Regions from separate parts of the Homo sapiens genome. Here all the other regions are linked to region 1. Evidence: promoter capture Hi-C in 16 types of primary human blood cells and fetal thymus (Javierre and others, 2016). All regions are on one chromosome and are shown on one strand. The core of a region is centred on a gene start or on the middle of the fragment in contact, and the rest is flanking DNA. Distances in the headings are between cores, read along the strand shown. Region 1 holds the start of TAS2R13 (taste 2 receptor member 13). Region 2 holds the start of PRB4 (proline rich protein BstNI subfamily 4). Region 3 overlaps LOC107987435 (a long non-coding RNA gene). Region 4 overlaps SMIM10L1 (small integral membrane protein 10 like 1).

What was found. Contacts are between HindIII fragments. The CHiCAGO score rates a contact against its expected background, and 5 or more counts as called.
Region 2: the fragment with the promoter of PRB4 here is called in contact with the fragment with the promoter of TAS2R13 in region 1 in 16 of 17 cell types (naive CD8 T cells, total B cells, activated CD4 T cells and 13 more); the score reaches 18.3 in naive CD8 T cells.
Region 3: a contact is called between a fragment that was not itself captured here and the fragment with the promoter of TAS2R13 in region 1, in 1 of 17 cell types (endothelial precursors). The highest score is 5.4, in endothelial precursors.
Region 4: a contact is called between a fragment that was not itself captured here and the fragment with the promoter of TAS2R13 in region 1, in 1 of 17 cell types (M1 macrophages). The highest score is 5.2, in M1 macrophages.

What each region holds. Positions count from the first base shown.
Region 1 is chr12:10,907,875-10,911,460 of GRCh38, forward strand. It overlaps TAS2R13 (taste 2 receptor member 13), which reads right to left and starts at 1,688. Exons shown (of 1, transcript NM_023920.2): 1 at 52-1,688. The coding sequence starts at 1,424. The coding sequence ends at 513. The region is part of intron 4 of PRH1-PRR4 (PRH1-PRR4 readthrough); the gene reads right to left. It also overlaps a transcript of PRH1 not described here. The HindIII fragment of the contact is 14,745 bases long and covers 1-1,876 here.
Region 2 is chr12:11,308,722-11,312,307 of GRCh38, forward strand. It overlaps PRB4 (proline rich protein BstNI subfamily 4), which reads right to left and starts at 1,715. Exons shown (of 4, transcript NM_002723.6): 1 at 1,614-1,715; 2 at 649-684; 3 at 1-161. The coding sequence starts at 1,677. The HindIII fragment of the contact is 5,809 bases long and covers 1-2,301 here.
Region 3 is chr12:11,202,869-11,206,454 of GRCh38, forward strand. All of the region lies in intron 1 of LOC107987435 (a long non-coding RNA gene), which reads left to right. Among named protein-coding and RNA genes, the nearest start is that of TAS2R42, 18 kb to the left of the region's middle. The HindIII fragment of the contact is 1,857 bases long and covers 739-2,595 here.
Region 4 is chr12:11,173,332-11,176,917 of GRCh38, forward strand. SMIM10L1 (small integral membrane protein 10 like 1) reads left to right here. Exons shown (of 1, transcript NM_001271592.2): 1 at 1-2,685. Among named protein-coding and RNA genes, the nearest start is that of PRH1-PRR4, 3.5 kb to the left of the region's middle. The HindIII fragment of the contact is 3,407 bases long and covers 15-3,421 here.

The DNA.
Region 1 (3,586 bases), core at 438-2,937:
TTAAACTTTTTAACCCTCTCAATTCTCTCAACACATCAGTATAGTAATAGTGGCAAGTCCAAACTTCCCTAATTCTATTCCAAATAACTGTTCTAATTATCTGTAGCTCACCATTTAAATAGGAGTACTTGAGATAATAAAATAATTACCTAAATCACCCATCTCAATGAATGATTTAGAATTGAAGAGCCATTGCCAAACAAAAGATTGTAGATTTACAATTAACATCTAAGTATGCTGTAGTATATGTTTTTAATTTACAATAGAATCTGCCAATAATTTCCTCAAATAAGTTTCAAATTCCTAATAATGTAGAAATACATGTCATAAATACATAATATTCTTAGGTAAGATGCTATTATAGAGAAGAATTTAAAACATTTACAGTGACCTTCACAATAAAAGAAACCAGGGGAAGCATAAAATATCTTTTAAACTCCTTGTAGACTCCTGTTTCTGTCTGCAATATTCAATAATCTGTGGTCTGAATGGCTTATGAAATTGTGAGTTTCTCATCGTTTAGCCCATACCTTAGCTGCCACCAAAAGAAAGGCCTGTCTTAACTTAGCGTTTCCTAGAATCAGAAGAAAGGAGTGGCTTGAAGGAGAGAAGACTCCAATCGTCTCACAAAGCATGTAGATCACTGTGTTCTGATACAGCTCAGAAATCCATGATATGAGAACACATAGAAAGAAACTAGCATAGAATAAAAGGAATGAGATCACAATTTTCAAGGCATTTGTATGGACCTTGGTCCTGGGGTCTCTGTGTCCTTTGTAATTGAGTTGCATTTTCTGGAGATGTTTCTGCAGGGAGAAAATTAACAGGAGAAAAGAGATGAAGGCCACAGTAAATGGTGTTAGACTGAACATAGTCATAGTGAATTTGACCGACACTGAAAATGTTTCAAAGTCACTCATACTGAAATTCCAAGTTGTGTTTCTTTCATATCGGTCCAGCCAGTCTTTTATATGCATGTTTATTTGTATCAGATTTAAAAATAAGAAGACCAAGGTTCCTAGCAGTATCATCAGAATCACTTTGTTTACTCTCCACTTCAAATAGAGAAAAGCAGGGCTAGAGAAACTCGCTATTTTGAGCAAATAAAAGATGCTGAAGATTGTAGCAAGCCAGAGATTGAAGTGATTAGAAACTATCCAGCTAAAAATCATAATTCTTAATCCTGTTCCAGACACAAATATGGCTAGATAATGCAGAGCTAAAAACCAACTTACTAATATTTCCCAGATCAGCCCAATTCTGGAGATTGCCAAGATAATGAGGAGTTTATCGACTGAGGACAGCTCTCTTTTACTGACCCAGTCAATGCAGTTGATCAGTACTATAAATCCATTGCTCAAATTCCCAATTATGAATTCTGCAATTATTACAAGAGTGAAGATACTCGGCAGGGCACTTTCCATGTCAGAACAGAGAAAGTTCAATGTCTAATGTCACTGCTGGTTATTCACTGATCTAAAATGCTATTCACATCCTTGAGTGTCCAGTGGAGTTCTTCTTCCTTCTCCTTTTTCTGCTCCTTCTTTCATTGTTGGCTCAACGTCAAAGCAGAAATCTCTAAAGTTTGCTGATCGATCTTCACATAACTGTTCTGGTGATATCTTTATTTTTCTTCAATTTCTCTGCTGAGCCCTAGCTAAGATATTTATGTCTTCACCATGGGCAGAAATATTTCATAGATGATTATGCAGCAAAGTTAAACTCACATTTGCAACCATGCAAATAAAGATATATTCTCTTTCATTGTTTTGTACTTTTTTGCCTTGTCTGAGCATAGAAAATTAGATTCAACCAGCTTGAGTTCTGAGGTACAAATATTATAAAAATCTGATTCATAGAATATGTAGCTAAATGAAGCTTTTATGGCTAATAGCATAGCCAATGAAGCTTTATAAAATATGCAAAGACTTACCTATGCTATTTCAAAAGAGTGCTCAATTTCTTGTGGAGCTAAAGCTGGATCTGGTCAATACTGTGACTAAAGAGAAACTCGTTTACAAAGCATCCATCTTTCTCATTCCCTGCCTCATCACTACTTAGCAGTGCTCACCACCATCCCTCCATAGGCACCAAATGCCTTCACATTTTATCCGCTTTTCCCCTCATATTTCTTTTTTAAACTTAAAAGTGATAAAAAAACAAATTTTACAAAATCAGCAACAGCTACCAAAGAAAGCAGTACTATATTACATCATAACTTGCAAAACTGAAAACCAAGCAAAGAAATAGATACACTAGTTCCCCTTATCCATGAGGCCTATGTCCCAAGACCCCCAGTGGATGCCTAAAACAGCAGATAGTACCAAACTCTATATACAATATATTTTTTTCCTGTATTCACCTACCTATGATAAAGTTTAATTTGTAAATCAAGCACAGTAAAAGATTACAAAAATAACTAATAATAAAATAGAACAATTAAAACAATATACTATAATAAAAGTTGCCAGGGGTTGTGGCTCATCCCTGTAATCCTAGCAATTTGGGAGATTGAGGCGGGAGGACCGCTCGAGCCCAAAAGTTTGAGACCGGCCTGGGCAACATAGGGAGACCCTGTATCTAAAATAAATAAAAATTAAAAAAATAAAAAGTAAAAAAATGTGTTAAAATATATAGTGTGGTGTCTCTCACTCTCTCAAGATACCTTACTGTACTGTACACACCTATTTTTGGACTGTGGTTGACCTTGGGTCACTGAAACTGCAGATAAGCGGGGACTAATGTGTTCATTGTGAAGAGTCAAGGTTCCTCACCCCGCCCCACTCTTTCAAAAACTACCGAAAAAAAGTGGATTACCAAAATTCTGAAAACGTGGAGACTCAAGAAAGATTGTCTAATTCAAAATTAATATAAATAAAACACTTTATCTTGATTATAAGATAATAAGTAGCCATTTAGCTAGATGAATACAAAGCTATTTTTATTTAATAAAGATATAATTTGTGAATTATGAATGTTTGTATTTTATTACTCATGCAATCTTTATTGGGTGATCTACAGAGTACTAAAAAATTTACAAAATAATTGCATCATCTTTAATGATTTGCAAGTTTCAATTATAACTTAAAATAGGTAGATATTTTCTATTTTGTTGTTATAATGGTATATTTGTCAAGATAGAATAGAAAATGTCTCCTTTAACAGTTTGTTAGGTTTGTATATTTATGACCTTTAAATATGTAGCTATGTGGCATGTGGTCTTCCATTTGCATTCTTGACCCAGGGCTGAAGAGATCTTTTATACTTTTTCATTTTAGGGTGTTCTTCCTACCTATCTAGAGAAAAGGGTTTGGGGATGCCGGTCACAACTTGATAATACCCCAAATCTGTACAAATAGGCCTGAGGAATGGTACTGTACTTGCTGGTATATGAAAAAATACCACAGTTTTTAGAACTTGTGATATAACACATGACAAAGACATAGAGAATGGATAACAGGCTTGCGGTTCTGAGCTGCATTTTCCTGGTGTGTTTCCATAAGAGAAAACATTTAAAAATATAAATTTAATCAAAGAGATGTAGTCTCTCACTTCTATAAGAGAAAGAGAATAGATGCTAGGGAGC
Region 2 (3,586 bases), core at 465-2,964, 400 kb after region 1:
GTTGCCTCCTTGTGGGGGTCGTCCTTCTGGCTTTCCTGGAGGAGGTGGGGGACCTTGGGACTGGTTTCCTCCTTGTGGGGGTGGTCCTTGTGGCTTTCCTGGAGGAGGTGGGGGACGTTGGGGCTGGTTTCCTCCTTGTGGGCGTCGTCCTTCTGGCTTTCCTGGAGGAGGTGGGGGACATACGGCATTCACTGAATAGTTGCCACAAATTTTTACAGTAATGGAGCTAAATGGGGAAATGCACAAAAATGAGACCCAGATACTAATTTCTTTGCATTTTCAGTGAAGCCCTAGAACTCTGGAGTGGAACGCTGGGGGAAAAGGGAGAAGTTGAGGGGCTCTCAGTCTAAGGAGGAGTCAGAATAAGGACACTGGCCATTTGTCTGTCATCTCCCAGGAGGCACTCCTGGCCAGGGGGATGTCAACCCACTCCTGTTGTCATCTAAGCCAAGCATCTCTGACATTCCATTTGGTGGCCTGCTCATGGTCCCCAGAATCAAGTTTGCATGAAGATTGCCTATATCATTAGGGGCAATAACATTAATCAATTCCTGAAAGGAAAGTGTTGATAAGAAGACACTGGAGAAATGATCCATTTGTAAGCAGAAAAAGGGAGTCAAAACAGATTGAGAATGAATTGGGATTTACCTGATATTAGGAAGAGAGATTCTTCCTGGCTGACATCTAGAAGAGAAGCACAGGATGATGGGAAATGTTACATCTCAAATCTTCAAGACTCACAAGTGTTCTACAGGGAAAATTGTCTTCTCACCACACCCCATGCATCCCCTAGGTTAACTCATCAGCCACCATCTGTGAAGGTGCTGGAAGGGGTGGAAGGTGTAAGAGGAGGCAGGGTTGTTACCACACAGAGCAACAGCAATGAGTTCAACATAGAACAGCCCCTTTTTTTCCTCCCTAGCATCCCTCAAGACTTAATGCTTATTTAGTTTATGCATGCCAGGTACTTCAATGTGATATTTTGGTGTTCTTATGCCCTCCATCTCCTGTTAATATATTGCATACATACACATGTTTTCTCAATAGGGGTAACCAGAAGTAATCATTTCAATACAATCTAACCCATTCCACTCCCAGCACATTGAAATACTGCATGTAGGGGAGAGAAAAATTGTAATGATTGGCTCTGATATTTCTACATCTTTAGTTAGACAGAGACAAGTGTTCTATCCAGTTCTGTCTCTGCAGTATCTCTGATGTGTATGTATCTCTATCATCAATGCCGACTGTCTGTACAGCAAGGCCACCATCATCCCTGTGTACTTACTGGGATCAGTATAGGATCTTCACAGCTGGACTTCCCTGAATCTGCCTTGCACTCTCCACTGCAGCCTTCACAGCACAGTTCTATCTCTATAAATTCAAATCTTACCTTCTCATTCCCCTGGAACAAATTCGTTATTGGATTTCATTGTACATTAAATAAATTAGAAGTCCTTATTGTGGAATGAGGGCACAACAGGTCTCCTGATCCTAGGCATGAAAACTCTGCAGCCCCATCTGTGTTTTCATTCTCCTCTCTTCCCCATAATTACCACTGTCACCTCCTAAGTCCCAAGCAGTCACCGCATCTTTTCCCCCTTCTGTTTTACCTTCACTTGAACTCTCAGCTGAGCTCAGGGCCAGCAGGGCCACTGACAGCAGAATCAGCAGCATCTCGCTGGAGGCTCTGGAGTCACTCCCAACTCTGTGCTGGGAGGAACGTGGCAACTCCCTTTATAAAGAGGAGCAAAACAATGGCACCTTTGAGCCCTGGGTGGGCCTCACCACCTCAGAGACTGGGTTCTGCTTTCCTTACTGCAGGTCAGGTGTATCCCTTATTTCTCTTTGGGACTCTAGCCCAGAGGGATGGGGTGGGTTGGATGTTGTTTGTGCCTTATTTCTAAAAGGTACGACTATGACTTGAATAAAGGTTCTAAAGGAACTGTGTCCAAGCTATCAGCACTGTGTCATAATTGAACTTCAGACATCATTAGAGTTTCAATCCTTTTGGTAAGACTATGTCTGCTTTCCACTCTACTATTTATTTCTGTGTAATATTTGTGGGGGCAGTGAAGCTACAGCCAGCAGTGAAGATGGTCAATTTCTCTGGCTCTTTATAGAGCCTATTTCCATCTCTTGTGATGTGTGTGTACAGATAGTATCACAATTGGCTAAAGTTTTGATGCGATAGAGATGGTTTCTGTTACCTGTGTGATGGTGTGAAGACAACACACTCCTGGGCACACATAGATGACAGAAAGCTGCCCCACAGCCTGCTCGGGCTACAACTATTGTTCAAGCTTCTGTGGATCTGACTCAGCTCAGGCAAGGCTTGTTGTTGTGCCACACAGGAAGGCCAAAATTGTGTATTTTAAAGTACCTTTAGGGGTTATTAATGCAAAATGTACACAGAAACCATAAGGAAATTTCTAGATCTGAGAAAACTGAATACATAATTCCTTGCGGGAGCCATGCGATATCATGTTGCCAAAACTTCCTTCATGCTCTTCCCTTTGTCCAGAATATTCTATAATATTCACCCTCTGCTTCATTTCTTTTAATAATTGTATTGAATTCCTACCACTTATAATTAAGTGGCTACAATTCTACATTCAAATAGGATAATCAGATACCCTCGTTAAAGCCTAAATTGCATTATATTGGTATTCTTGGTTTAGTCAGTATTTGTGTTACCTGTTTTCTCAGATTGTTCTTCCACAAAGAGTATTTTTCTATAATATTCTGATATGCATTCCTCCCCACCTTCTTTCTGGTTCTTCTTTGTTCATATTTTATTTTCTGAGTCAAGCCCATTATGTGTATTTTTCTTTATGTATCTGGCTTTTTTCCCCATGAATTTGGTGAGATTTCCTTTATTTAATCTTCTAAGTATTAGGATATAGTACTTACCATCTTTGTTTCATTCTTGTCTGTGTAATTTCATAATACGTGTTGTGTTTCCAAAAAGCCCTATCAGAGACCTGCATTGTTAGCACTTCTTTCAGCTACTGATTCTTCGTTATATCTGATAAATACCTGCTTATCAGTTCATGGAATATACAGGTTACTCAGTATCAACAGCTGCCATTTACCACTTAGACCTTCCATGTGTCTTGTGTAATTGTTCACATTTTGTGCATGGCTGGTATTAATTTGAGAACACCTTGGTTGGAGGTATGATGGAGGTAGAGAGGGTATGTGACAGTAAATCCTAAAGACAGGCCTCTTGAACATTGTGGATGAGTAGATCCTGGGCTTTGCAGATGAGAATCTGGGTGGCCCTTCTGAAGAGTTGCAGGTAATAGTACAAGCAGACTTCCTAATAAAAAAGGCTTTGCTACAGATAACTTTGCCCTTGCAAGGGAACCACGAAGATTGGTATTTTCCCTGACAAAAATATACACGTACTTGAAATGGGAATACAACTGGAGATGAGCAATCCTGCTTAGGTGGCTTAAGTTAGACCATCAGGTAACAAAGGAATGTCAGAGAAAAGGAGCAGCAGAGGCCAGGCTGACATTGCCTGATATTGTCACCAACTGAGGTTGCTGCAGCCTGATGCAAGACCGACTTCCCCTTGGCA
Region 3 (3,586 bases), core at 417-2,916, 290 kb after region 1:
GGAAATATCATATCATAATATCATATAGAATTCTGGATTACATAAGTTCATCTCTTTGGGATATAACTAGGCAGAATCACTGATTCCATTTGCTAATTGCTAAGTAGTTTACCTCCAAGTGTTGCAATGATTTCCAAACATCCAAACATTGCTACTGGTTGAATCACTGAGGAACTTGCTAAAAATACAGATTATAGGGTCTAAACTATGATCTCATAAATCAGAATCTCTACAGTTAGGGCTTAAGAATTTTATTTTGTTTAAGATACCCCCAATCTTTATTCTGATGTAGCTGGTCCAGTAAGATTGACATTTCTTAATCAACACATTAGGCATCCCAGTAACAAAATACAACAATAACTTTGTGCATTAAGTTGGAAACCATGACAAAATTTTCATTTTAATATGATGGTTTTTCAGAATGAATGATTTCAGGATCTTTGCCAAAGTCTCATGCTTCTGTTTCCAAAAAGCCCCAGCAAATGTTTACCTCAACCCATTAAGTAGGCTAAGTGCCAATTAATAAATAGAGATGAAAGTGGCATGTGAAAAACCAAAACTTTATGGATAGGCACTGAGAATCTTCCTCTGTGGAGGACAAAGAAGATATTATTCTTCTAGGTCATTATAAACAGGCTAGATGGCCCTTAACCATATAAAAAGACATTTGAATTCACTTATAAGAGAAAAGCAAATTAAAACTGTGCCTCATTTGTCACGTTGGCAAAAAGTTCTAAAAGCTTGTCAACCTATTTTGTTAGTGAAATAAGAAATAAAAACATTCATTGCTGGTGTTTGCAAATCAGTATAATGCTTTTAGAGATGTTAAAAAACAAAATTTCAACAAACTGATTTCAAAGATTTAATTGGCTTTTATTATCAATTATGAATTGGGCTGCATTCCATCTATAAAACAGAAAAATGCTCCATGGGCATAGCAGAACGATTAATATGTGTAAGGGAGTTTGAGCAGAAACAAGGAAATAGCATAATACAACAAAGTGGATTGGTTAACTTAGGGTTACTTTCCTTGAAAGGGTTAAAACAAGGGGTACTTTCATATCATGCCAGCCTAGGTTTACTGGGACCTTTTTAACTGGTTACTGTGAATCTCCTGTTTTTTGTTTTTTTGGGGATTTTTTTTTTTTGGAAAATTTGGCCTGATGGGAGATTTTCCTGTTTTTTAAAGTTTCAGTTTGACTACATGGCTCTTGTCAAGAGTGACTCCATTTTGGTTTGTCCTGTTGGGGGCTAGTGCAGGAATTCAACCCAAAACAATGACCTACCATACATTTTATTTAACAGAAGGAAAATGAGTAATATTTAACAAAACTGCATGTGTGTTTATTTTTGATCCAGCATTTCTTCATCTAGGAATTTATTCTAAACATGTACCACTAACAAAGAAATAAGCATGGACAAACTTACTCATTACAGCATTGTTTGTACTCACAAAATATTGGAAACAACCTAATTGCCCATACATAGGAGAGTGGTTAAATTAACTATGGTATGTCTACGTAAGGAAGTACTAAGCAGCTATAAAAAAGAATGAGGATGATCTCTATGAACTGATGTGGAACGTTCTCTAGGGTACATTGTAAAGTAGAAAAAGCAAAGGGGAAATGCATATACGCCACCATTTTTGTAAAAAAAAAAAAAAAGAAGGGACATAAGAATATATCCATAAATATGCTTATTTTTGCATAAAGAAATACATGAGAGCTGGTCAGGCATGGTAGCTCACTCCTGTAATTCCAGCACTTTGGGAGGCCAAGGCTGGCAGATCACAAGGTCAGGAGATCTAGATCAGCCTGGCCAATATGGTAAAACCCCATCTCTACTAAAAATACAAAAATTAGCCAGGTGTGATGCTGTGTGCCTGTAGTCCCAGCTACTCAGGAGTCTGAGGCAGAAGAATCACTTCAACCCAGGAAGCAGAGGTTGCAGTGAGCCAAGAGTATACCACCACATTCCAGCCTGGGCAACAGAGTAAGATTCTGTCAAAAAAAGAAAAAAGGAAAAGAAAGGAAAAAGAAATACAGGAGAGCTAAAATAGATATTAATAAGATTGGTTACCTACAGGAAGTGGGTGGGAATGGAATTTAAGGGATTGAGGATTGGGAGAGTACACGATTTTACATAGTTTTGATTTGGGGGTACCATGTTAATGTTTCATGTACTCAAAAGTGCCTAAAATCAACAAGGATGGTAACATGAAATAAAGTAGAATTTTAAAACAAAAAAAAAACAAATAAACTTAAATATTGCAAATGAATAGCATAACCAAACTGAAAGAAAAAAGTAACTGACTTATCTTGCAACATAGTACTTGGACTATACTCCCCAAGTCTAAAGACAAAAAAAAAATACTAAATAAATATTAAGCTCTAGTTAATGTTATCCCCTACCCTCCAGTGATATGGATTAGCAATTCTAAAACTACTTTTTGATATTCTAAGGTGGGACAAATGTATACAGTCAGCCATGCATTTCTGTGGGTTTGTTTTTCTTTTTTAACCTTCACCAGTTTATTATAAAGGATATTACTAAGGATACAGTTGAAGAGATGCATTAATGGGGGAAGGAGCCTGAAGCTTCCACGCCCTCCCTGTGCATACTGCCCTCCTGGCAGCTCTCCAAGCCTGTCTTCTTGTGTTTTTGTGGAGGTTACATAGGCATGATTGATTAAACCATTGGCCATTGGTGATCAACTTGACCTTCAGCCCTTCTCCCCTCCCTGGAGGTTGGGGGATGGGGCTGAAGGTCTCAACCCTCTAATATTGTCTTTGGTCATTCTGGTGACCAGCCTCACTCTGAAGTTATCAGTCAATATAAGTATAAAAAAAAGCAAGCACTTTGGAGAGTACAAGGATTTTAGGAGTTGTATGTTAGGAAACTGGGGAGGAAGACCAAATGCATATTTCACAGTATCACATCCTCACATCTGCCAAACCTAATTGAACATCTGAGGATTTTGGTATCCACAGGGGTCATGGAACCAATCCACTGTGGACACTGAGGGATGACTGTAAATATATTAAGCATAATGGAAGCCAAGTTTCTTGAAGGGAACTGTAAATGTAGAAAGGGCAAGAGTAGCATGTGGTCTTGAATTGGAATTGAAGAATATTAGTCTGTTCTCACACTGCTATAAAGAACTGCCCAAGACTGGGTAAACTATAAAGGAGAGAGGTTTAATTGACGCACAGTTCTGCAGGACTGGGAGACCTCAGAAAACTTACAATCGTGGTGGGAGGGGAAGCAAACACTTCCTTCTTCACATGGATCTCATGAGAACTTCAGATCTCATGAGAACTTACTCACTATCACAAGATTTGCATGGGGGGAACTGCCCCCATGAGTCAATTACTTCCCATCAGTTCCCTCCCAAGACTTATGAGGATTATGGGAACTAAAATTCAAGATGAGATTTGGGTGGGTTTGGCTCAAGATGAGCCAGACCATATCATGAAGTTATCAGTATGAATTCAGTTTTTAATAGAGAAGGAAAAAAAAAAAATATATATATATATATATATATTTTATGTGTTTCCTAGCTCTGTCTGCCTAAAAGAAAGAATAT
Region 4 (3,586 bases), core at 468-2,967, 270 kb after region 1:
GTGTTTTAAAGCTAAGCTTAGGTGGCGCTTTTTCCATTAAATTTTTCCTGGATTCCACTGACCATATAGGAGCTCACTTCTTTTAATCCATAAGGCCATTTTCATAGGTTGCCTTATTTTTCCCTAATCGTGCATCAACTGTCTGTTTTATATACCCAAGACAGGTTTCCTAGACTGCGATAAGCCAAAACATTTTAGTCTAAAATATCAGAAGTGTAGTTTAATCAATGAAATAGTAATACCAAGGGATTTAGAATCGTGGACATCACTGTTTCCCAGAGCACTGATGTCCCAATTTGTAACACAAAAGACTGTCTAGTCTTAATCCTGAAATGGTGACAGAGTAGGATGCTCCATTTGGGTGACTATGTGAACATATTCCTATAACTTTTTTCCTCACATCAGTCATTTGTTAAACCGAAGATGAAGAAACAGACTTTGTATTTATTACATCCTCCAACATAATTGGCAGCTCTGTGAGGGAAGACACTATATCCTATTCAATTTTACACCCGGTAGTAACAGTATGTGTGTGTACTGTATATATACATATATATATACATACACATATATAAATTTAAGTAGTAACTATATATGTATATATGTATAGTTACTACTTACTATATATGTATACAGTATATAAGTATATATGTATAGTTACTACTTACAATATATGCATAAAGTTACAGCTTACATTTACCTCGTAATATATGTATATATATATATTAGGAGTTAAATGTATTAGGAGGTAAATGTAAACTCTGTGGTTTATCATTTATTCACAATTGCTCTTAATTCTTGGGGTATAGTTTGCCTCCTACATGATGCAATTCAGTGAAATTCCCAGGAGACAAAACAAGATTTTGACCTGAATAAACCACTTATTGTTGTAATTCACAAGTGAGTTTATTCTTCCTGGCACACTTCCAGGTAATATCCATTAGGCTAAGGATTTTGTTTGTTCACTGTTCTATCCCCAAGCCTAGAGCACTGCCCAGTGCGGAATAGCTAATAAATATTGTTGAATGGATAGATGAATGGCAATTTTGTTGGTATGCTCTACATAGTCAGCAGTCAATAAAGGAAACATATATTCGTTCCTGATAATAAGATGATTCACTTTATTGCCCATAAATTGGGCTTTTTCAGGCCATCATGCACGTTGATTGATCCAGAGATCCCTCAAGCATGAAAAAGCAGAGACATAGGTGGTATAGTTATTATCAATAGAGATAAGAAATGTAGCTGGCAAAAAAAAAAATGGGAAACGATGCGTTACAGCTTATTTTAACTATAAAAGGAAAACAGTGAACATAGCAACATATGTAACCTAAGGGATAGGGGAAAAGTTGTTTTTTTTTTTTTAATTCTGGGTAAAAATACATGTGATTACTTGACAAATAGCATATCATTACCATCAGCATCATTTTTAAAATATATTGAGTTTTTAATACCAGGAACTATGAAAAACTATTTATATACATGAGCTCCGTAATTCTCACATATACCCTGTGAGGAAAACATTTTTATCATTTTTCAGAGAAGCAAACCGGGATTTAGAGAGGTTAAGTAAATTCCTAAGGTCATGATAACCAACCAGACCTCAAATGAATCTCCAGTAATTCCTAAAGTTATATTTCATAAGGAGTTCAATTTTCTTAAATGTGTAGATAATTACAAATAATTCTGTTTCTCAAATTTCTGGACAGAAATATTACCTGGGTAATAGTTATTTTTTTTAACATAACTATTGAGGGTCTTTCATACTAAAATATAAATATTTAACATGATTTGATATGTAAGTTCAAGTATTTTATACTCTCTGCAGCCTTAAACCTATTGGCTTATTTTATTAGAGGGTTGGTGGGATTGAGGGATATGGGAGCAAAGGGAGAGAGAGGAAAGAACGTTGTCCTCAGAATGGAAGGGAAACACTTTCCTGTGCTACCCAGAGTAGAGATCAGACAATGTTAAATTTTGAAGCCATGTCTGTTCCTGTCCTGAGGATCCCTAACTAAATTTTGTTAGAAAATCTTGCAGTTTGCTTTTAATGGGAGATCTTTCTGGCAGGACATCAATAGCTTTTGATAGCGTCAAGAAGAAAATAAAGTTACATGCAGAAGCATAAAGGGGTAGGATGAAAGTTGAGGAATATAGGGACAAAAGATGAGGGAAAGGAATATCCTAATACTTGGAAGTTTGAGCATGGAAAGTAGTCTAAAGACGACTTGGGAAGTTCCAAGAAAATGAACCAAGAAAAGAACCTCTGCAAGAACTATGAGAATTCCCAACAATTGGGTTGGATTGATTCATATTAGTCTATTACTTGGGTTACCTTGAGTGTGGGGATTCTTCTTGCAGTTTTAACACTTGTACTATGGTCTGAATGTGCCCCCCAAAAATTCACATGTTGGCATTTAACCCCCAAAGTGATGATCTCAGGAGATGGGACCTTTGGGAGGTGATCAGGTCATAAAGATGAAACCCTCGTGAATGGGATTAGTGCCTTTATAAAGGAGACCCCAAAATAATTCCCTTACCCCTTTTGCCATGTAAGGTTATAGGGAAAAGTCATCTATGAACAAGGAAATGAACCCTCACCAGATACCAAATTTGTGAATGCCTGGATCTTGGACTTCCCAGCTTCTAGAACTATAAGAAATAAATTTCTGTTGTTCATAAGCACCCATTTTATGGTATTTTTTATAGCAGCCTGAACAAACTAGACTTAATAGGATTTGCTCAGCAGGATTACCACCAGGTCAAGTCATGAGATCTTTTCAAAATATAAGTAAACCTCCCCTTACCCCTACTCTCCACAAATACAAATTTCAGCAGTGCTCTTGGGACAACTAAAAGGCCCAAGGACCTTCCCAAAAGCCTACTACAAATGAAGAAACTATGGAAGTCTTAGTAGCTTAATTGCAGGACATCCCTGCCAGTTTCTATCCTGATTAGGGATCTGCAATGAACATTACAAAATCTTCACCATCTCCATGGCTTTCAACACCAAGCATATGGACTTAGCCACTGTAAAATAGTGGCATGCATCAATGAACAATAAAGAGAAATGGAGATCATTCATATTATTAGTGAGGGAAGTTGGGTACAACTTTTCATCAGCCAAAAAGAGGGAGAAAAAAATCACACCACCAAATAATGAAATACTGTAACTAAGATCATTGGCAGAGAATTAGAGATTATGTTCAGCAGATTAAAAAAAAAAAGAAAACAGCTGTGATCATGCCACTGCACTCCAGCCAGGGCTGCAGAGCAAGACCCTGTCTCAAAAAAACAAAAAGCCAAAAATACGAGATGCTTAAAAAAAGAACTGTTGTTCAAGAGATCATTTTCACTTTTTAATTGGTTTTTGAAAACTGTGAAAGTATCTCAAACTGAAGTCTAAAAGGAAAATAATAGAAGCTTCAAAGTTCAGGGGCCAGGTTATATCTATATAAAAGGGAAGCTAACTTATTTCCAGAACTGATTCATTTATTAAACATGGGGCTAAGGAATAGAGGTGGCAATATACAAGTCAGGATAATGCCTTTGTCTTCTGAAGCTGCATCTACATTGGTGCCCCTCA